Regions from separate parts of the Homo sapiens genome. Here all the other regions are linked to region 5. Evidence: promoter capture Hi-C in human tissues and cell types (Jung and others, 2019). All regions are on one chromosome and are shown on one strand. The core of a region is centred on a gene start or on the middle of the fragment in contact, and the rest is flanking DNA. Distances in the headings are between cores, read along the strand shown.

Region 1 (2,700 bases), core at 79-2,578, 220 kb after region 5:
GCCCCCAGAACTATGAGAACATGAATGTCTGTCATTTAAGCCTCCCAGTCTGTGGTATTTTGTTATGGTAGCCCTGACTGCCTAAGAGACACCAACTTGGCTTTGACACCAAGTTCAAAGAGAAGCCAGAAAATTTCAAAACTGGTATTTGCTGTTCTCCTTCTAACGACCTTTGCGGGTGGGGCCTCTGAGAAGCCACAGTGGGAGGTCAGGCAGTAGCAGTGAGGCTGGTGGCCACCAGCTGAGAACTTGGCAAGGGACTCAACTTTTCCTGTCTCAGGCTCCTCATCTGTAAGATGGAGTTTGCAACAGGTACCTCCTGCCAGGGTGGTGATGAGAACTGAAAGAGTTGATATTTGTAAAGCTCTTACAGTGGTACTTGGTATATAGTAAGCGCTTTGTGTGAATATTTGTGAAATTACCATTTTCTGGCAAAATTACAGCTTTAAAATGTGAGGCAGCAGAAATACTATCCACCTGACAAATAAATTTTCTTGGTATGTTTTCTGCTGAAAATCTTGGGGTAATGAATCACTAGGGCCAATACTTAAATGAATACTAGGGCCATACCTGTCTCCTGGAATCTCAGGGGAACCTCAGAGTCATTCATGTTACCTACAAGCATATTCTAACTACTAAAAACCTTCTTGTACATTAAGGAGCTGGGATTTGTTTCTGGGGGATTTCCTGTGGTTTCTAACAGCTAGCAATGGGTTTAACTGCAAATTCACATGGAATTTCAGCACCCACACAGGCTTTTGAGCTCTGCAAATTCTGTCAGTTGAATAACTCCAATATCTAGCATTTACTGAGGACTGACTATATGCCAGACTGTTTGATGTATAGCTGTGAGGTAGGTGCTAAGAATAGCCGTATTTCACAGATGAAGGAATGGAGACTCAGAGAGGGTAGGCAACTTCCCTAATGTCACACAGCAGGTAAGCAGAGAACTCGGCATTTAAAGGCAGAACCTAGTCTGGGCACAGGCTCATGTCTGTAATCTCAGCACTTTGGGGGGCCAAGGTGGGTGGATCACTTGAGGTCAGGAGTTCAAAACCAGCCTGGCCAACATGGTGAAACCCTGTCTCTGCTAAAAATACAAAAAAAATTAGCTAGTCGTGGTGGCAGGCACCTGTAATCCCAGCTACTCTAGAGGCTGAGGCAGAAGAATCGCTTGAACCCGGGAGATGGAGGTTGCAGTGAGCCAAGATTGTGCTACTACACTCCAGCCTGGGCAACAGAGTGAGACTCTGACTCAAAAATAAAATAAAATAAAATAAAAAACAGAGCCTAAATGCATAAAAATTACACACCAGTGTCTCCTTACTAGCTAGGAGATGCTGGAAAGCCACTTTAGCTGCTCTGAGCCTCAGTTTCTTTAAAATAGGGATAATCATGCCTGTTTTCAAGTTCCTGCTTGGATTGCCTGTGCTTGGCACTAGAAGGCATTGGGGAACTGGTTACAGTAGTTACAGTGGTGGTTGTCATCACTAGCACTGCCTTCTTCTTTCTAATACACACCCAGAAATCACTGAAAGGCCTTACCTAAGCCATCAACTGTGATTCACTGGCCTCATCTGCAACATGAGGACAAAAATCCCTAGTCCCACTTGAAAACATTGCCTTGGAGGTCAAATTAATAATGGTACAACATGCTTTCACAACCCAATGAACTCGGGATTCTGGTTCTAGCAGCCATCAACTAGCTTTGTAATTTGACAAACCTCTTTATTTCTTAACCCCATTTCCCCCAGCTTAAAATGAGGTCAGTCTATATAAATGAGCTTCAACAGTATTAGGAATTTGAAGCCTCCACTCTTCTGAGGACAGATGAAAAGTTTATTTCCAATGAAGAGAGTCTTCCTAAACCATGGAATCAAAAAATCATGGGTTTTTCCCGGCACCCAGGCCTCAGCTCAACAATCTCTCCCCCAGAGGAGCCTTTCCTAACCACCTGTTGTCTCCCTAAAGATAACTTCTCTCCCCACTTGTGCCCTTCATAGCATCTATCACTCTCCGAAATCATCTTCTCAACCTCGTGTCTCCTCTGTCTCTCCCCACTAGAGTGTAAGCGCTCAGAAAGCTGGTACCACGCTCGCTGCCAACTGCTCAGTTTTTATAAGCCTGTAATAAATACTCAGCACATACTTGTTGAATAAATAAAATGATTCAACAATTTTGCAACTTATACAACCTTAGCATTCTTGGATGTCAAGATGCTAGAACCAAGGCTGGACATGAAAAGTTTAAAGGACTGAAGTTTTTCAAACCTATCTGAATGTCAACTCTGAAGTAGTAACTGCATTTTTTGGAAACAATAATTTATAGTATTTTTTGAACAAAGACCAAATGGACCCATCCCCTCTTTCCTTTTTATGTAGTTGTTTCTTCCACCCTAAACCTCATCACATGAGGAGCAAGGCAGACACTTGCTGTGACTGGCCTGGCCTGGTCCTCGCTTATCCTCTTTCAGAGAGAGGAAAGGTGATCACTGTGTGCTTGGCTGGTGGGCTCCAGCACTTACAACAGTGGATGTCACCTGTGGAAATGCCCAGCTGTTGAAGCCAAGAGCTGCATCACAGTTTGAGGGAGTGGCAGTATGGACAGCCACAATTCTTACCATAGGCAGCGGGAAGCCACACTCGGGGTTATTGACTCCGATGATGGAAGGAATTGCTTTAAATGCTTTCTGAGACAATA
Region 2 (2,700 bases), core at 28-2,527, 170 kb before region 5:
TCATCCATATAACCAAAAACCACTTATACCCCTAAAGCTATTGAAATCTGGAAAAAAAAAAAAAAAAAGATGTCCCTTAACCACACTATCCAGGGCCAGATACAGCCTATGTTCCACTGGAAGGTCAAGTGAGTATGAAAGTTTAGGTTGCTGTCACTTATGTCCCCTAAGCTGAGCTATTAACCATTAGAGGCCTCTGCCTGGCCTGCATCACCAAGCAGGAGTGGCTGGTGACAATGCCACCAAAACAATGCCACTAATTGCTAACCAATGGTGGAGTTTTTATTTTGGGTGGCCCCTACTCAGCTGAAGACTGCATGCCCATGTGACCTTACTTTGGGGTGTTTATTGGGTCACGGCTTCTTACAGTGGGACATGTGGCCCTTTGAAGTACAATCTTTGGGCAATCTCGAGGGCTTATGCATCACTGCGCTTCTAGTGGGCAGCTGCAGCAATGGAGCTGTGGACTCCTTTCTTTTAAGAGACTTTTGTATCAGAAGAGAAAATACAGGCCCTTTATTCCAAATGTAAAGGGACTCCTTTATATCTGAGATTTTTATCCAGATCATTCACATAATTTTTAAAAATTGTCCTCAGTTATTAGAAGCATCATTCTGGGTGGCCTGGGCAGGGGCTCTGAAGATTGAGCACCTGTTTGGGGATCTTTCCCTTAGTGCTGTTATTGAATTAGGAAGCCCACACAAAACTTTGTCTTGGTCACACTTTGGGTCTATGTCTGGCCAAAGGCAAAGGATGAATGAGCCATCTGGTCACTTCCAGAGGACACTTGCTGCTCCTTCCTTTCTGGAAGTCATAAAACATGCATGCAGATCCAGAAAGCTCTGATTCCTTTCCTTTTTTAGATTATCTTTCCCCTGGTTCTTTTTAAGAATCATACATTGTTTAAAAAAAAAAAGAATCATATATTGTTAACTACAAAAGTTTTGCATGCTCATTGTAAGAACTGAAAAATGCATAAAACCTTAAAGAATAAGTTACTATTCTTCCCCCATCCATTCCTATCTTTCTGAAGTAACCAGAAGCTGTGTATCTTTCCTCCCCTTCCTTTTGTCTTGTCTTTCTCTCTCTTCTTTTTTTTTTTACAGAGTCTTTTCTCTCTTGCCCAGGCTGGAGTGTAGTGTGCAATAACATGATTTCGGCTCACTGCAGCCTTGAATTCCTGGGCTCAGGTGATCCTCCCATGTCAGCTCCCCCAAGTAGTTGGGACTACTGGTGCATGTCATAACGTCTGGCTAATACTTGTTTAATTTTTTGTAGAAACAGGTATTACCACGTTACCCAGTTTAGTCTCAAACTCCTGGACTCAAGTGATTTTCCTGCCTTAGCTCCCCTAAAATTCTGGATTACAGGCATGAGCTTCCTCCCCTTTCTCAGTGCTTATGCAAACATACGAACGCATATGTAGAATTTTTGCATTGTCTTCACAAAAAGTAGGATTATATCAAACACATTACTCTGCAGCTTGATTTTTAACTTAATATATTAGAGTCCTAAGGTACAATAGATACAATACAATAGATACAGACCTAGCTCATGTTTTAATCAGCTACATAGTTGTCATACAAACGTGTACTATTCAGCTCTTCCCTATTAATTGACACTTAGATTGTTGCCAGGTTTGTTTGTTTACTGTGTTGGTGCTTTTCATTTGTGTGGTGTGGATTCCCAAAATTGAACTTGCAGAGTCAGAAGGACATGTTTACATTTTAATAGCTATCGCTAAATGGCAATCCCCAAAGGTTGTTGACATCTGCATTTCACACTGGCAGCATATGAGCATGCCCTTTTCCCCAAGCTCTCCCCAGCCTTGACAGCTGCTTGTTTAATTTGTGCATGTGCCAATCTGATGGGAAAGCAGTGATGTCTCGTAGCTTTCATTTGCTCTTCCCAAATGCTATTGATACAGGAGTTAAGAAGAAATCACTTACCCAGATAGTAAGGGTATGGAACTCCTTGGTAAGGCTTTTCTCATTAATAAAAAGCAGCCCCAAATTATTTTCTTACAAAGAACAGCCTGTAAATTCAAGCTGCAGCCACAGATAAGCAAGATGGGAGCTTGCACAGGTGAATACTGGCAGGAACTAGGGACTAGACATGTTCAAGACGACAGCTCCATATTCCCTTCACTTTGTCAGCCACGTGAACAGTAAAGAGCAGACAAGATGGCACCGGGCAACTGGTAAGCTCAGTTGCATAAGATTACTTATTATGCAATGCTATGTAAACATCATACCTGATTGAACCAATCTGTGAGCCTTATGTAAATCAGACACCACCTTCTCCAGCGTACTTATAAAATCTGCTGCGGTCCACTATCTCCCGCTTTTCAGACATCTCTCTCTCACAAGGAGCTTCTCTTCTCTCTCCTTTCTCCTATTAAACTCTCCACTCCTTAACCTACCCACATGTGTCCATGTCCTCGATTCTTTCTTGGTGTGAGACAACAAAACCCAGGGTATACACCCCAGAAAATGTAGCCATTTCAGTTGGGGGTTCTCATCTGGGATTGGGATCAGAACAGAAGGTAGAATCATTGGAGTGGTAAGTATGGAGTGAACCTCAAAATCTGTCCTTTCATTCTGAGGCTCTCAGCCTGCATTTTAAAATCAAATTAAATCAATAACATGTATACATCAGCCATTTAAAAATATGATTATCATGGCTACCCTTCTTAAAGAC
Region 3 (2,700 bases), core at 18-2,517, 210 kb before region 5:
CCCCTTCTCAGGGGCTGCCCAGAGCGAAGTCACATGTTCAGCTCTCTTCTGAGGACCTGCTGCTCCTGGAAACCCAGCAGGGTTAAGGCAGGCACAGCCAGGTTCAGACAGCTCATGTTTGCGGGAGAGGGAAATCAAGTCAACAGACAAGGAACAATGTCATGTAGGAGGCGGGATTTGTGCTGGGGAGAAATAGGGCAGAGGATGGGGGGTAGGGAGCACCTGGCTGGGGTCTCACGGGGGGCGACGTCCCAGGGGCTGGAGGCAGCCAGCGACTGAGGAGCCCTGACTAGCGCCAGGCCCCTGTGGCTGGAGTTAGTGGCTCGAGCTCAGCCTCAGTTTCCCCTCTGTGCAGCTGGGTTGATAATAATGGAAACTGACTCTCTGGGTGGGGGGAGGGACAATCAGATGGAAAATAGATGTTTTGTTTGTCTCTGCCGTTGGTTGTTTTCATCCTTGGGCTGTTCCAGCCCCAGACAGCCTCAGGCCAGCCCCCTGCCCATGCTGGGCTCCCCACCGGCCCTGGAACCCTCACCCCAGTGCAGCTGGCCTGGTGAAACCAAGAGTGCCTGAGGCCCGAAATAGCTGGGAAACCCCACCAAGCCTCAGCCCTGGCAGCAGGTGCCTCCTTCTCCCCAGGGTGGGAGGCAGGGGGGCGATTCAGTTTCCAAAGCTTCCACCAGCCCAGCTGGAGAATGGTCCTGTGTCCCCGCACCAAGACACCCAAGCCCCGTGCCCAGGCTTGAGTTAGACAGGGTCTGGAGATCATGGTCAATCAATGATCAGAAGTAGCACCTTCTGCTCCAGAAGCTTCTATTCATGCAGGCCCTACCCCCTCCTCACAGCTCCCCAGGAACCGTTCTAAATGCCAGGTTCAGAGCTGTGCCCAATTGGGGGGCACAGCCAGACACTTGGAGCTCAGAGGGGCCTGGGGTGGGCAGGGCTGGCCAGAGCTGGACATGGGACCCTGCTGATCACACTCCACCTGCTGCCCCCAGGTCTTGGACCCTTCAAGGGAGCTGGGCCAAGTAAGGGGATGGGAAGGGAAACAAGAACCCTTCCAAGAGCTTCCCTGGGAGCCCAGAGCCTGAGGCAGTAACGAAGCTCCTGGAAGCACAGCTGCCAAGAGGACTTCCGGGGTCCCTACCCAGTGGGCAGGACCTCAGACTGGTCAGTCACTTATTTGTGTGTCTGTCCATCCATATATCTGAACATGCACACACACACACACGCGCGCACACACACACACACACACACACTCATCCTTCCACAAGCCCCGAGGCCTGGCCTGTGCAGGGCTCTTGACACATGGTGTCCCAGGCAAGGCAGGACTGCCCCAGCCCACCCCCAGGTGAGACCTGGAGTGTGCCTTCTCATGGGAGGAGGGGGCTGTGGCCTTGGGGTGCCCCATTCCCTGTCCAGTCTTCCCCATGCTGGGTCTAGATGCTGAGGTCAAAGAGAGGTTGACAGGTGTGAGGAACAGGCCACTGTGGTGAGGCTTAATGCCCCCTGTCCGATGACCAGATCCTACCCACTGCCCCCGTTACAGACCTCCCTGTCTTTCTCCATGTGGAGGAAACGTTCCCAGGATATTCCAGGGCTCCAGGTTCTGATGAGAGTATGGGAGGAGACCAAGTACCCAGCCTCAGGGCCTGGGTTCACCCCTGCAGACGGCAAATCCCATCCACCTGTGGGACTTCACCAGCTCATTCTTAGAGGACACCAGCCTGGAGCTCCCTTGGCCCAGGAAAGCCAGGAGCCAGGCCCGCCACACGTAGCCATTGCACATGTCACCTGACACATAAGATGCGAACTGTAGGGTGGGCAGGCCAGGGATGAGTGCCCCCACCTCTGCCTTCCTCCCCACAGGCCCACCCACGAGGCTGAACAGGGTGGCCCTAGACCCAGCACCATCTTCAATCAGCTCATCCACTGGCATCCCCCACCACCGTCCCCTCAACATGCACAGGATGCCAGCCACCCAGGCCAGTTCCTGAAGTAAAGCAAGCAAGGGGGGGTACTTGTCCCCGCCCAGCCCAGAGCTCAGATTGCAGATGAGACCCCCTTGCTTGAAGAAGACAAGGGGCAGGAGATACTGGGGATTCCATGTGGTCATCAAAGGTAGCCTGGTGGCAGCAGCAACCTCAAACAGGCCTAGGAGCTGGATCAAGGACTGAAGGGCAGAGAGAGGACGGGTGTGTTAGGGGTGAGTGTGAGCAAAGGTATAGGAGTGACCACAGCATCCCTTCTTCCCACAGGGCCACAGTAGTGCACAAGGGCCCTCATGGAAGCACCCTGAAAGCTCACCTCAAAGGCCCCATACTCTGTCCCCCACGTCACCTGGCCTGCCACCCTACTTAATACCCAGGAAGTCCTTGGAGTCTGTGCCACATGGATGGGCTCCAAGATGGACCAGGCTTCCAGGGGGGCAGGGAACAAGGGAGAAAAGAGGTCTGGGCCCTGCATAGGACACAGGTAGTGACCACCCGGTGGAGGAGAGGGAATGAGCAGAGGATGCTGGGAGCCAGGCCCAAGGCAGGGCCCTGCAGGGTGCACAGTTCTCTGGGTTGGACGGTGGACCAAGGCCATGAACATTCATGCTGGTCCAGGCCAGTGGACCAGAGTGCCCCAAGCCCCAGAGCTCTGCAGAGGGGCAGGGGCAGGGCCCAGAGAGAGCAAGGCCGAGAGTAGAGGCCCTAA
Region 4 (2,700 bases), core at 201-2,700, 250 kb after region 5:
ATGGGAGTGAGCCAAGCCTGGCTGAGAGAGCGTGCCCCAAAGAGACTGACTGGGCCCCCTCACTGCCCCAGCCATGGGATGGGCCCAGACACAGACCAGCCCAGTGGCCCTTGGCCCAGTGAGCCAACTTCCCCATGGGCAGATGAGTGGACGGGCAGATGAGTGGACAGGCAGGCAGAGCGCTTGCGGCAAGCTGTGGAGGCGTGGCACTCTCTCCCGCCGATGGGTCCACACCAGGCTGGGGTGGCCTTGGGTCCCTGGGGCAGAGAAGTTGATGGGGAACGGGGGTGTGCTGCGGGGTCCTGGTCCCCGTGGCACCACGGCGGATGGGTGGTGGTCAGTCCTCACACCAGGATCTCGTACATGGTCCCACCCACGCCAGACACCTTCTTAACCAGCGTGTGCCACATAGATCTGGCAGAGGGCCCTGGGGGGCCTGTGGCAGGTCCCAGCCGGGCCAGGCCCAGAGACTGCCCATTAAGCTTACCTGGGGGAGTCTTCAGCTGAGGGTGGTCCCTGCATCAAAACAAGCACATACACGCATGCACACGGTGAACACACGAACACGGGGACAGAGGACGGAGGAGGCAACAGGACAGAGACGACACAGACGTGGACTGGTGTAGCCATGTCGTGGGGCCCTGGGCAGTCCCTGCCCTCTAGGCTCGGAGGGTTCACCCAGAAAGTAGGAGGGAGATGCAGAGCCTGCCTGGGGAGCGGCTGTGCCATCACAGGACAGATGTTGTCAGAACTGCCACCACCCTCCCAAGTCCCTGGGTCCCTAGGCAGCACTGGCCACAGAGAGCATGGGGCAGTCAGGTGGGCACTGAATGGAGCCCCTGCCCTGCTCTGCACTGGGAGCCCGGCCACTCTGCCTGGCCTCATTCCTGCTCTCTCTCAGGAAAACGAGGGGCTGCCCTCCTGCCCACCAGCGCTGACCAACAGCAGCTCTATCCTTGCTGCTTAAACCTTCTCAAGGTGAGAGCCCTTTGTCCCCGGGCTGCGATCCCTGCCTGGCTGCAATGCTGCCCACTTCTAGGTCTCGGGCTCCCCACTCATCACTCCCAGTGGCAGCCTCCTCCCCAACTCCACAAAAGCTGAACAGACTCCTACCCTGTGGGGTAGGGGAGGCCTCCTCAGGGCTGGACTGCTGTGCCCTCAGCCCCTTTGTGGCCAAGTGGCCTGGGCTGGGCTGGGCGGGGCTGGGCTCTCCCCCTGGGGCCGCATCTGACGACAGGAAACAGCTGAGCCTGTGCTTGAGGTTTCCAGGCCCAGACGGGGTGACAGACGACAGATGCCGTGAGGACACCATGCGTCCGTGGCGTGGGTCCTGGCCCCAGCAGGTGTGCAGCTCTCCTACCTGGGCCTGGGCCTACAAGCCAGCTGACCCCGCTCTCTCAGTTACCAACCTGCTGGGTGCCTGGAGCCAGCCTGCTTTCTCCAGTCCTCAGTTTCCCCACTACGAGCAGGGAAGCCCCTGCTTCCCAGAACTATGTCCCACAGGGAGGGCCAGGGCCCGGCCACCCAGGGAGGCACATTCTGCTGCGAGGTAATGTCCTCAGCCCCAGCCTCCTAGAGATGCAGCAAAGCAGGCCCAGGGAGAGCACCGGGTAGACAGGGCCACTGTGACCCAGGATGCCAGAGCCACAGCCTAAAGGAGGCCCAGGCTGCCACATGATACTGACCCCAAAGAGAAAGCCCCATGGCCTCCTACGTGCTGGGTCTGTGCCAGCTCTGGAAGAACAAGTCATTGGGATCAGGACACAAATTCTCATACCCTGTCCCCAGAGCATGCCCAGGACATCCTCAGAGCTGGGCCACACGGGCTAGCCAAAGCCTTCAATGCAGGGTGAGGCGCATCCTCCCTGTCCCGTCCCCAGAGAAAAACTCAGGCCCCTGGGATGACCTATGAGTGCCCAGCCAAGAGGGGCCCTGCAGACGGCTGGACAGCTGCCCTGTGCCAGGAAGCCCACCCGCACCTCCCAGCACCCACCTCTGCACGGTCAGCGAGGGCGGTGGCTCTAGGAGGTCCATTTGGATGAAGGTGACACCTTTGGGGCCTGTGTAGGATGGTGAGTGGGGAGTGCCGGGCGGGGAGGGCAGGCCCTGGCGTGCGGGCGACCTGTGTGAGCCACTACTGGGCCGGGGCCCCGGGGCGTTGCTGCTGACCTGATCAGCCTGCAGGGAGGAGGACGACGTCCGCAGTGCACGGCTCACGGAGCTGGAAAGCGAGGACAATGATGTCTGCAGGACAGGGTTGCAGGCGCCGCCGAAGCCGGGCCTGGCCACAAGGTCATCTGTAGAGCTGTAGCACAGCGTAGGACCTCGGAAGCCCTCAGACAGCACACTGGCCTGCTGCAGGCTGTAGGAGCTGGGAGCATCATAGACGCCTGAGTCGCCGAAGAGTGAGTCGGCCTGGGAGCGCAGCAGGCACTCACGCTCCTCCCTGTCCTTGCGCTCCTGGATGGATGCCATGATGGTCCTGGACAGGATGTCGTAGAGCACAGGCGAGGGCTCCTGGGGCCGGGGGCCCAGCACGGGACTGAAGCTGTGGGGCAGGGGCCATGGTGGGTCGCCCGTTGCCCCAGGGTGCAGGTAGGGTGAGTGGTATCCGGCCACGCCAACTGCTGGATGGGCGAGGCAGGCGTGGCCACCAGGCGAGCCAGGGTTGAGCACATTATTGTAGGACAGGCTGCGATT
Region 5 (2,700 bases), core at 61-2,560:
CCAAATCCAAATTAGTAAGTGACCCCACAGCTTAATCTTCCCTTCTCCTAAATCCCATTGGCACACTCCCTTCCCCTAATTCTCTATTTACTTCTCTGCTTCCCGCAGTGGACTCCAATTTCCCTGAGGGTGGACACCATGTCCGTTCTCTTTCCTTGTCTCCCCAGTGCTAGGCATATACCAGGAAGCTTTCAGTACATGTAGGACAAATGAATAGTTAATGGACTTGAATCAAGCTTTACAGTATAAAAGCACTTTCACCATCTCAGGTGATCCATTGAAATAGATAGTTGCGTTTATTTTATAGTTGAGTAAACTGAGGTGCGGAAGGTGGAACAACTCACCTAAGTTCACCCCCTAAGCCTCAACCTTAGCAGTGAAACTCACTAAAAGACATTAAACAGAGCCAGGTGTGGTGGCCCTTGCCTGTAGTCCCAAGGACTGGGGAGGCTGAGGCGGGAGGATTCCTTGAGCCTAGGAGTTCGAGTCCAGCCTGGACAACATAGCAAGACTCCATCTCTTTAAAAAAAAAAAAAAAAGACATCAAACACCAGCCTCCAGCACACTTAGCTTTGAATTGAAGATGACTGAGTTAGATCTGTGTACCAAGGCTTCCATATTGTGATGCAGAAAAGTTAAGGAGCTGAATTAAGTAGGTTCTCAAACTGAACCCCGGACTTCGAAGCTGGTTCCACGGTTTTATAAGGGCCACAAGAGGCCATCTAGCCCAAAACAGCTAACTTTCCAAACCGAAACTAGTTCAGAGGAAATCACTGACTCAGGTCAGCTTTTTATTAAGGAAATTAATTTTGTACCGTGAGCTCTAGAAGCCAGGCATATGATATTCAGACAGCACTGGATTCAGAACTATGCAGACTAAGGTCAGTAGATGGTAGGCAGGTCTATCTTCTGCAGCTGCAGGGTGCTTGACTCCAATTAAACATCAATACCACATCAGGAGCTCTTATGCCATAACCGCCCAACCTCTCCCAGCCGAGCTGATCACCAGAACCTGCGCGAATCTCTCCACGGTCAGCCCCACCCAGGGCTCAGGCTCCGCCCCCGGGCCTCCATAGCCCCGCCCACCGCCCACCCATCCAGCACCGCCCTTGTTGTCATGGTGATCTCCGGCTCTCCAGGGTGTCCAGGAGTCTCTCTGCTGCCAGCCCCGCCCAGACTCCAGGCAGGTTCTCGTTGCTATGGTGATCGCCGGTGCAAGCTGGATGCTTGGACGCGCCGCTGCCAGTCCAACGCAGACCCCGCCCACGACGTCGACGATTCGTGTAGCCCGCAGGTCCCGCGTGGCTCTCGTTGCCATGGTGATCGCCGCCGCTGGCTCAGGCGGACCAGGCCGCGCGGAGCCCCAGCTTTCACAGCCATCGCTGGTGAGTCAGCTCGCCCACTCTGTCCGACCCTCCCGGTCACCCAACCCCGTGCTGGCACATCCCGAGGCCAGGGCCGCGAGGGCACAGCGTCCGCGCCCACTTCCCGCCCCTATAACTTGAAAGCGGCCTGCGGCCCCGGGGCGTCCTCATTTCCGGAGCGCAAACTCTGGGCCAGGCCCGCGCTGGTTGTGGAGGAGAGCCAGGTCAGATGCGGGAAGACAACCGGACTCCGCCAGGACCACCCCAGCCCAGCCTGGAGAGGAGTCCGGACAGAAAAAGGAGACAGAGGGGCTGTTGAGGAGGCTCGAGGAGTCAGAGGCCTGGTGAAGTGAGGGTTTTCAGGGAAAAGGCCTAGTTGGCTGAAAGTTAAGGCCCCCAGGCCCACCTAGAGCCTTCGTCCTTTGCAGACTGGGAGCAGGAGACCCCTCCCCACTCTACTTCCACTGCCTGAGCTGTGCCATGCCTCACAGCCCAGTAAGGTAAGCTCAGAGGGGAGCTCCTCCTTGGTAGACACCTGTCAAGGGGAGACCCAGGTCTTCTGACTCCCAGGCAGGGTGGGGCAGGCCTGGTTCCCCCATACCATGCTGCCTGCTGTATGCAGATTGAGAGAAATGGCCTCTGCCCCATATTCCTGACAGAGAGGGAAGCCTGGATCTGGTTTTATTTATAATTCTTGAGACAAGGTCTTACTCTATCACCCAGGCTGGAGTGCAGTGGCACCTTCACGGTTCACTGCACCCTTGACCTCCCAGGCTCAAGCATTCCTCCCACCTTCCTCCCAAGTAGCTGGGACTGCAGGCACAGGCCACCATGCCCTGCTAATTTTTTTGGTTTTTTTTTGTAGAGACTGAGGTTTCACTTTGTTGCCCAGGCTGGTCTCAACCTCCTGGGCCCAAGTGATCCTCCCACCTTGGCCTCCCAAAGTGCTGGGATTACAGGCATGAGCCACTGCACCCAGCCTGGATCTGATGAAAAGTTAGGTGGAAACTCATGGGTGAATCCCCAGGTATTTGCACAGCTCCTTAACTGTCTTTCTCCTGGTTGGGTCCACAGGACTGTGGAAGAATGAGGTCCTCCCTGACACCTTTGGGGCCCCCTGTGAGCCGCGACCGTGTCATCGCCAGCTTCCCTAAGGTAGAGAGTCATTACGTCTGCAGTGCTCTCCTGGCCCTGCAGCCACATCAGCTCTCCCCACTCTACACTCATGCCTAGAAGTAAAGCAGGTGAATCAAGGAGGTCTGTCCATTGTCAGATTTACCTTGAGGAGCTGGGAGACTGGTCACTGACTGCCCAAGGTGGGACCGCAAGTTAATGG
Region 6 (2,700 bases), core at 116-2,615, 240 kb before region 5:
TGACGCCTGAGCAGTGGAAGTCCCACAGAAGCTACAGCTGCCAGGTCACGCATGAAGGGAGCACCGTGGAGAAGACAGTGGCCCCTACAGAATGTTCATAGGTTCTCAACCCTCACCCCCCACCACGGGAGACTAGAGCTGCAGGATCCCAGGGGAGGGGTCTCTCCTCCCACCCCAAGGCATCAAGCCCTTCTCCCTGCACTCAATAAACCCTCAATAAATATTCTCATTGTCAATCAGAAATCTTGTTTTATCTCATTTTTTCTTTTCTCACATATAATTCCTAGCCTTTCCTGGGTTCTCAATTTGTGGTGGAAAGAACCCTGAACCCAGTGGGAAAGTTGCCTATGTGAAGGGGTTCTCAGTTCCCTGGGCATCTCTGCAGGTAAGGCCTTCCTCACCCAGACACCCCTTCCTCAGCTCTCCACTGTACCCCTGAGCCACCAGCCTCGCCTGGCTGGGACCAGGGGGGTGTCACACTCTCCTAGATTCTGCCTTTCAACAGAAACCTAACCACGCATCACACGGCACTTCTCGCATGCCTTCTGTGTCTGCTCCAGTCTCTGGGCTAAAGAGTTGCTGGTCCGGGACAGGGGATAGGTCCGCTCTTGGTCAGATGCCAGGTCCCTGCCATGGCATCCCTGACCCTATGCAACAAGCCAGTGACTCTGGTGAGCTCTCTGTGTCAGGAGAATCCATGATCCAGAGTTTCATATTGTCCTGCAAGCATCTGGTGGGCTGTAGCTCTTGCCAAACTGGGAAATACCATGGCCCAGCATCAGGATGCAGGACAGTCCGGAGAGGGAAATCAGGAGAAGTGAAGGGGTCTCTGGGGAGCCCAGATGTGGGCTAGAGGCAGAAGTAAGGGTGAAGAGCACCTATGAGTCAATGTCATGGTCTCAGCAGGAACACAGTTGAAAATCCCCATTCCACACAAGACCGTTTAGCAGGAAAGGAGTCCATACTTGTGCTGCCACCAGGATGTCCTGAGAAGCCTTGGAGAATGAAACATACAGGTGCATTTCCTAGACTTGACAATGCACGTTAGCCAAGTAAAGGCAATGAAAAGTTCTCTACTAGGGAAATAATTTCCTGTGGTAAAGCTTAGCTTATGTAAAGTCACATTTATCCATCTGGCACCTCTAAAAGCCCCATAATATTCTGCAAGATACTAGTATGTCATGGAAGTAGTTTATGAAACATAAAGTGAGATTTAAGAACAAAGATGTTACGGGTGTATGATAAGATGGCTACAGGCTCAGGGTCAGGCTCGAGGAGTGAAGGAGGCCGTGTCAAATTCATGACAAGAGTTGGAGCTGGGCCAGGCTGGGTCAGGGCTGTGTGAATGCAGACAGAGGGCTACAGGCAAGGTCAGGCATCCATGAACACTCAGCTCCCCCAGACCCTCCTGCCCACTGGGACCTTCGCCCTCCCTTGGTCACAGTGGTGGAGCCTTCCTACCCAAACCTCTATGGAGGCCCTGGATGACTGTGCGTTCTTAGTGCCCACGCAAACTTAGACTCCCTGTCTCTGCCTCCAGCACATCAGGAATGTGGCAGCTGAGTTCACCAGAGCTGCTGGGTGGTCCCGACAGGCCAGGGACAGAGCCCGCAAAGACAGGAAGCTCTGCAGTCACAATGAGGCAGAGAAATGGCCCCTTGGTGCTTGATCACAGCCACCCCTGATCCAAATCCCAGCCTCTGAATTAGAAGAAGGCTAAAAGGTTCTAGTGGCCACAGTCCCTGTCTAAGCCCATTTCACAAATGAGAAAACTAAGACCACCCAAGGAGGGCCAGTTACGTAGGCCTGCTGGGTACAAGGCCAAGGTCTACTTCACACCCAGCAGCTGTCCAAAGACTGAGCTGTGTCATAAGTTTATATTATGAAGAACTCTGAACATATAAATAAGGAGACAGAAAAATAACAGTGTCCCATGTTCTCATCACCCAGCACTCAAAATAAGCAATTCACAGATGATGCCGACCCACCCACAGCAAAATAAATTCTCCCTTACACAACATTTAGAAAGAAATACAAGACATCAGATCTGTTCAGCTGTAAGTACTCCATTACTGTCCTGGAATGACATGGACCTTAAAATAACTATAATATCACTACCAAACCTAAATAGAAATTATCACTAATTCCCTAATATCGAGAAATAAGCAGGGTCTCCTCAAATGCATCAGAAACACCAGAAGTGCTTTGGCTTAGTTACATGTTGGTGCTGTTGGTATTTGGGGGTTTAAGTTTATATGAGGAGCAATATGACATCAAATGGTGATGGGTGCATGTGCCATCAGGCTGGTTGTCACTGGTGAATATTTCCTCAATTGCTCTAGAGCCTCCCGGCAAGGCAGGAGCTGCAGGAGCTGAGAGCTGTCTGGAGAACTTCCCCTGGCTGCTATACAGCCACGCCTCCTGGAGCAGGAACCTAGGGCTTCCCTCAGCTTTTATTTTCCTGGAAAATGATTCTAGCATGAAGGGGATTAACTTGATTCAGATTGGACATTGCAAAATAGCTTGCAAGGACAGGGAGCTGCTACCAGCAGAGTCACCCATGTCAGACTGCCACTCTTGTAGTAATGTTAGCTGCATAGGATGGTCAATAGCTACATCCCTCAGAAGGGAAGGAAGGCAGAGGGTTGAGGCTTCAGTTCACCTCCTTCTCATGAGTGCTGCAGAGTGTCTGTGATGTCA
Region 7 (2,700 bases), core at 129-2,628, 130 kb before region 5:
AATTCCCTCTCTGAAGCTCCAGAGTGGAAGAGGCTAAGTTGTGCCACTGGAAGAATGGGGTTAACTCAAGCCCTAAAAGTACTAACCTTGGCTGAACTCATGGGGCACAAGCCTATGCTCAACAAAACGGATGAACCTTACCCAGTGTCCACTGGTGATGTAGTGCTATTCAGATACCACCTCTGGTAGATGGCTTCTAAGGTCAGTGTCTTTGTGGAATCACTGTGGATTCAGTTGGAAGTGAAAGTGCAGCCTGCTGACTCCGTATTCATTTCAGTTGGAGGTTTGCTCTTCTGCCGTGTTCATGAAGATAGTTTAGGAAATGGGTGTTTAACTGATCACAATCTCGCTGAAAATTGCTGGCATTCATACCATCTCAGGTGAGGTTACTCTAACCACACAAGTACTTACATTGGCACACTCTACTTAGTGGATGACAGAGAAGTCATTCTACCTAAAGATAGAGAAGTCTATCTCTGTGAATGACAGAGATGTCATTCTACCTAACATCTCTGCAGTTTGTAGAAAAACTCTTTATAGAGTTTGTAGACATTGAAGCAGCAGTCTCCAGCTTTTGCACTTACCCTAAGTCTGTAAATGACATTGCTAAGACCTGAGGAGACTGAACAATGAAAAGAACAGAGACGGGGGGCCTAAGTAGTGTCCTCCCACTAGAAATCAGCTTGGGCTGGCTGGGTCCCTCCCAGGGGTCTGACAGGGACAACAGCGATTATGTCTGCGGTGGGGAGGGACACTGCAGGCCACCAGGTAAAAGACTGGGAGCACAGAAGACAAATGATGGGGAGGCAGCAGCCATGGGCCACCTGGTCAGGCCTGATCAGATGGAATCTTTTGTAGGGGCAGTTCTGTCCTAGGCAGCTACTGCCTAGGTTCTGAGAGTGGAAGCTCTCACCACTCCTTCTTTCCAGCAACAGTGCAAATCTCAGATGCTGGGTGTTTCCCTGGCAGTTCACCAGAGACCAAGGGGAAAGAATCAAAGTGAGGCACAGAATGCCCTCAATCAGTGGTTCACAGTGCAGAGGAGTGGGAATTGGATTTTTCTTCCCAGAGGGCACTTGGTAATGTTTGGAGGCATTCTGGGTTGTCACAGCTGGGCCAGGGGGAGCTCTGCTGGCTGTTAACTGTTGCTTCCAGGTCAGGTGCAGTGGCTCATGCCTATAATCCCAGCACTTCAGGAGGCTGAGGCAGGAGGATCCTTTGAGCTCAGGAGTTTGAGACCAGTGTGGGCACCATGGCAAACTCTGTCTCTACAAACATTTTTAAAATTAGCCAGGTGTGATGACACACACCTGTAGTCCCAGCTACTCAGGAGGCTGTGGGAAGACTGCTTGAGCCTGGGAGATCCAGGCTGCAGTGAGCTATGATCATGCCATTGCACTCCACCCTGTCTTAAAAAATAATGATAAAAATTTTTAAGAAAGGGAATTAAAGGGAAATTAGGAAATTGTGACACAGAAGGGCAAGATAAGAATCCAACAAGAGATCATGAAGGACATTAAAGAGAGAAAACAGGATGGACTAAAACTAAGCATAAGTCACTCACTGAATTAAAGAGATCAAGCGCCTGAATGTGGAGAACTGGGGGTGTGGTGGGGAGTATACAGAGTACTTGATGTGGGAGTAACTTTCAGAAGAGTGAGTCAAATGTGGCTTTCTTTCTCTCTCTTTGCCTGTTCAGGTGGTTTGATAGCTGTGGTTTATACCAGCATCTTGAATGCTGACATTATGCTTTGGGGATCAGTCATGTTAATAGGCTTTGGGAAGTAAAACAAGATGACTGGGTACCATGGTGGAACCTTTGGCTCTAGAGCTGCCTGGGCCATCAGCATCTTTGTCTCACAGATGAGGATGATACAGAAGGACTGGGCTCTCGGCTAAACCCCAACCTTAACCCTGGAACCACAGCTCTAAGTGAAAACAGCTGACCCTGTTTTTCCACCCAAATATTGCCTTTTTGGCCTGCTCCACCCCTATCCTGTGCCCATAAAAAACTTCAGAGGCAGAGCAACACAAACAGCTGAGTGTCAAGGTATAAGCGGCTGAGTGACAGACAAGCAACTGAGCGTCAGAGACTATAAAAAAACACAGCTAATTTCAGACAGTGCAGTTTTGGAGAAGGGTCTGACCAGAAACGGTTAGGCTTTAGGAAAAGATCACTTTCCCATCCTTTTTCCAGCCAAGTGGGAGGTGCCAGCCATCTGGCTACATGGGACCCCTAACCCGAGGCTTCCCTGGGGACTGGGAGGTGTGCGCAGCTCATTGCTGCCTCGCTTAGCCCTTGAACATGGCACACGCATGCAGCAGACACGCCCAGGCTCCTAAGCAGGGAGGGGAGGGGGTGAGCAGAGGAACCACCACACACCATGCCTGCCCGTGGCTGTTGGGGTGAGTGTGGGGATGGCACCTCTAAGAAAAAACGGGAATCACATTGTTCTGAATTCCATATCTAATGGCTAGGCCAAACACTCATTCTACCTAACATCTCTGCAGTTTGTAGCAAAACTCTTTATGAGAGAGATAGAAGCCAGTCAGGCACGGTGGCTCACGCCTGCAATCCCAGCACTTTGGGAGGCCGAGGTGGGCAGATCACCTGAGGTCAGGAGTTCGAGACCAGCCTGGCCAACATGGTGAAACCCAATCTCTAGTAAAAATACAAATATTAGCCAGGTATGGTGGTGG

What was found. Contacts are between HindIII fragments. The study calls those that stand out against the background at their distance.
Region 1: a fragment that was not itself captured here is called in contact with the fragment with the promoter of RAB36 in region 5 in 5 of the 25 tissues and cell types used here (dorsolateral prefrontal cortex, liver, mesenchymal stem cells and 2 more).
Region 2: a contact is called between a fragment that was not itself captured here and the fragment with the promoter of RAB36 in region 5, in 8 of the 25 tissues and cell types used here (adrenal gland, dorsolateral prefrontal cortex, heart left ventricle and 5 more).
Region 3: a fragment that was not itself captured here is called in contact with the fragment with the promoter of RAB36 in region 5 in 4 of the 25 tissues and cell types used here (dorsolateral prefrontal cortex, lymphoblastoid cells, mesendoderm cells and 1 more).
Region 4: a contact is called between a fragment that was not itself captured here and the fragment with the promoter of RAB36 in region 5, in 2 of the 25 tissues and cell types used here (lymphoblastoid cells and thymus).
Region 6: a contact is called between a fragment that was not itself captured here and the fragment with the promoter of RAB36 in region 5, in 7 of the 25 tissues and cell types used here (IMR-90 fibroblasts, heart left ventricle, heart right ventricle and 4 more).
Region 7: a contact is called between a fragment that was not itself captured here and the fragment with the promoter of RAB36 in region 5, in 1 of the 25 tissues and cell types used here (lymphoblastoid cells).

Annotation. Positions count from the first base shown.
Region 1 is chr22:23,363,658-23,366,357 of GRCh38, forward strand. It overlaps the pseudogene CES5AP1. Among named protein-coding and RNA genes, the nearest start is that of LINC02556, 38 kb to the left of the region's middle. The HindIII fragment of the contact is 9,016 bases long and covers 1-2,700 here.
Region 2 is chr22:22,973,160-22,975,859 of GRCh38, forward strand. No RefSeq gene overlaps it. Among named protein-coding and RNA genes, the nearest start is that of IGLL5, 87 kb to the left of the region's middle. The HindIII fragment of the contact is 4,015 bases long and covers 1-2,700 here.
Region 3 is chr22:22,931,481-22,934,180 of GRCh38, forward strand. No RefSeq gene overlaps it. Among named protein-coding and RNA genes, the nearest start is that of IGLL5, 45 kb to the left of the region's middle. RefSeq lists an enhancer at 585-694. The HindIII fragment of the contact is 4,927 bases long and covers 1-2,700 here.
Region 4 is chr22:23,397,591-23,400,290 of GRCh38, forward strand. It overlaps the pseudogene ZDHHC8BP. Among named protein-coding and RNA genes, the nearest start is that of LINC01659, 35 kb to the right of the region's middle. RefSeq lists enhancers at 1,310-1,864, 1,954-2,700. The HindIII fragment of the contact is 6,507 bases long and covers 1-2,700 here.
Region 5 is chr22:23,144,167-23,146,866 of GRCh38, forward strand. RAB36 (RAB36, member RAS oncogene family) reads left to right here and starts at 1,311. Exons shown (of 11, transcript NM_004914.5): 1 at 1,311-1,385; 2 at 2,439-2,519. The coding sequence starts at 2,451. It also overlaps a transcript of RSPH14 not described here. RefSeq lists a silencer at 1,064-1,133. The HindIII fragment of the contact is 15,551 bases long and covers 1-2,700 here.
Region 6 is chr22:22,901,195-22,903,894 of GRCh38, forward strand. It overlaps IGL and IGLC2. Among named protein-coding and RNA genes, the nearest start is that of IGLL5, 15 kb to the left of the region's middle. RefSeq lists an enhancer at 1,123-1,222. The HindIII fragment of the contact is 9,575 bases long and covers 1-2,700 here.
Region 7 is chr22:23,010,535-23,013,234 of GRCh38, forward strand. No RefSeq gene overlaps it. Among named protein-coding and RNA genes, the nearest start is that of GNAZ, 59 kb to the right of the region's middle. The HindIII fragment of the contact is 5,108 bases long and covers 1-2,700 here.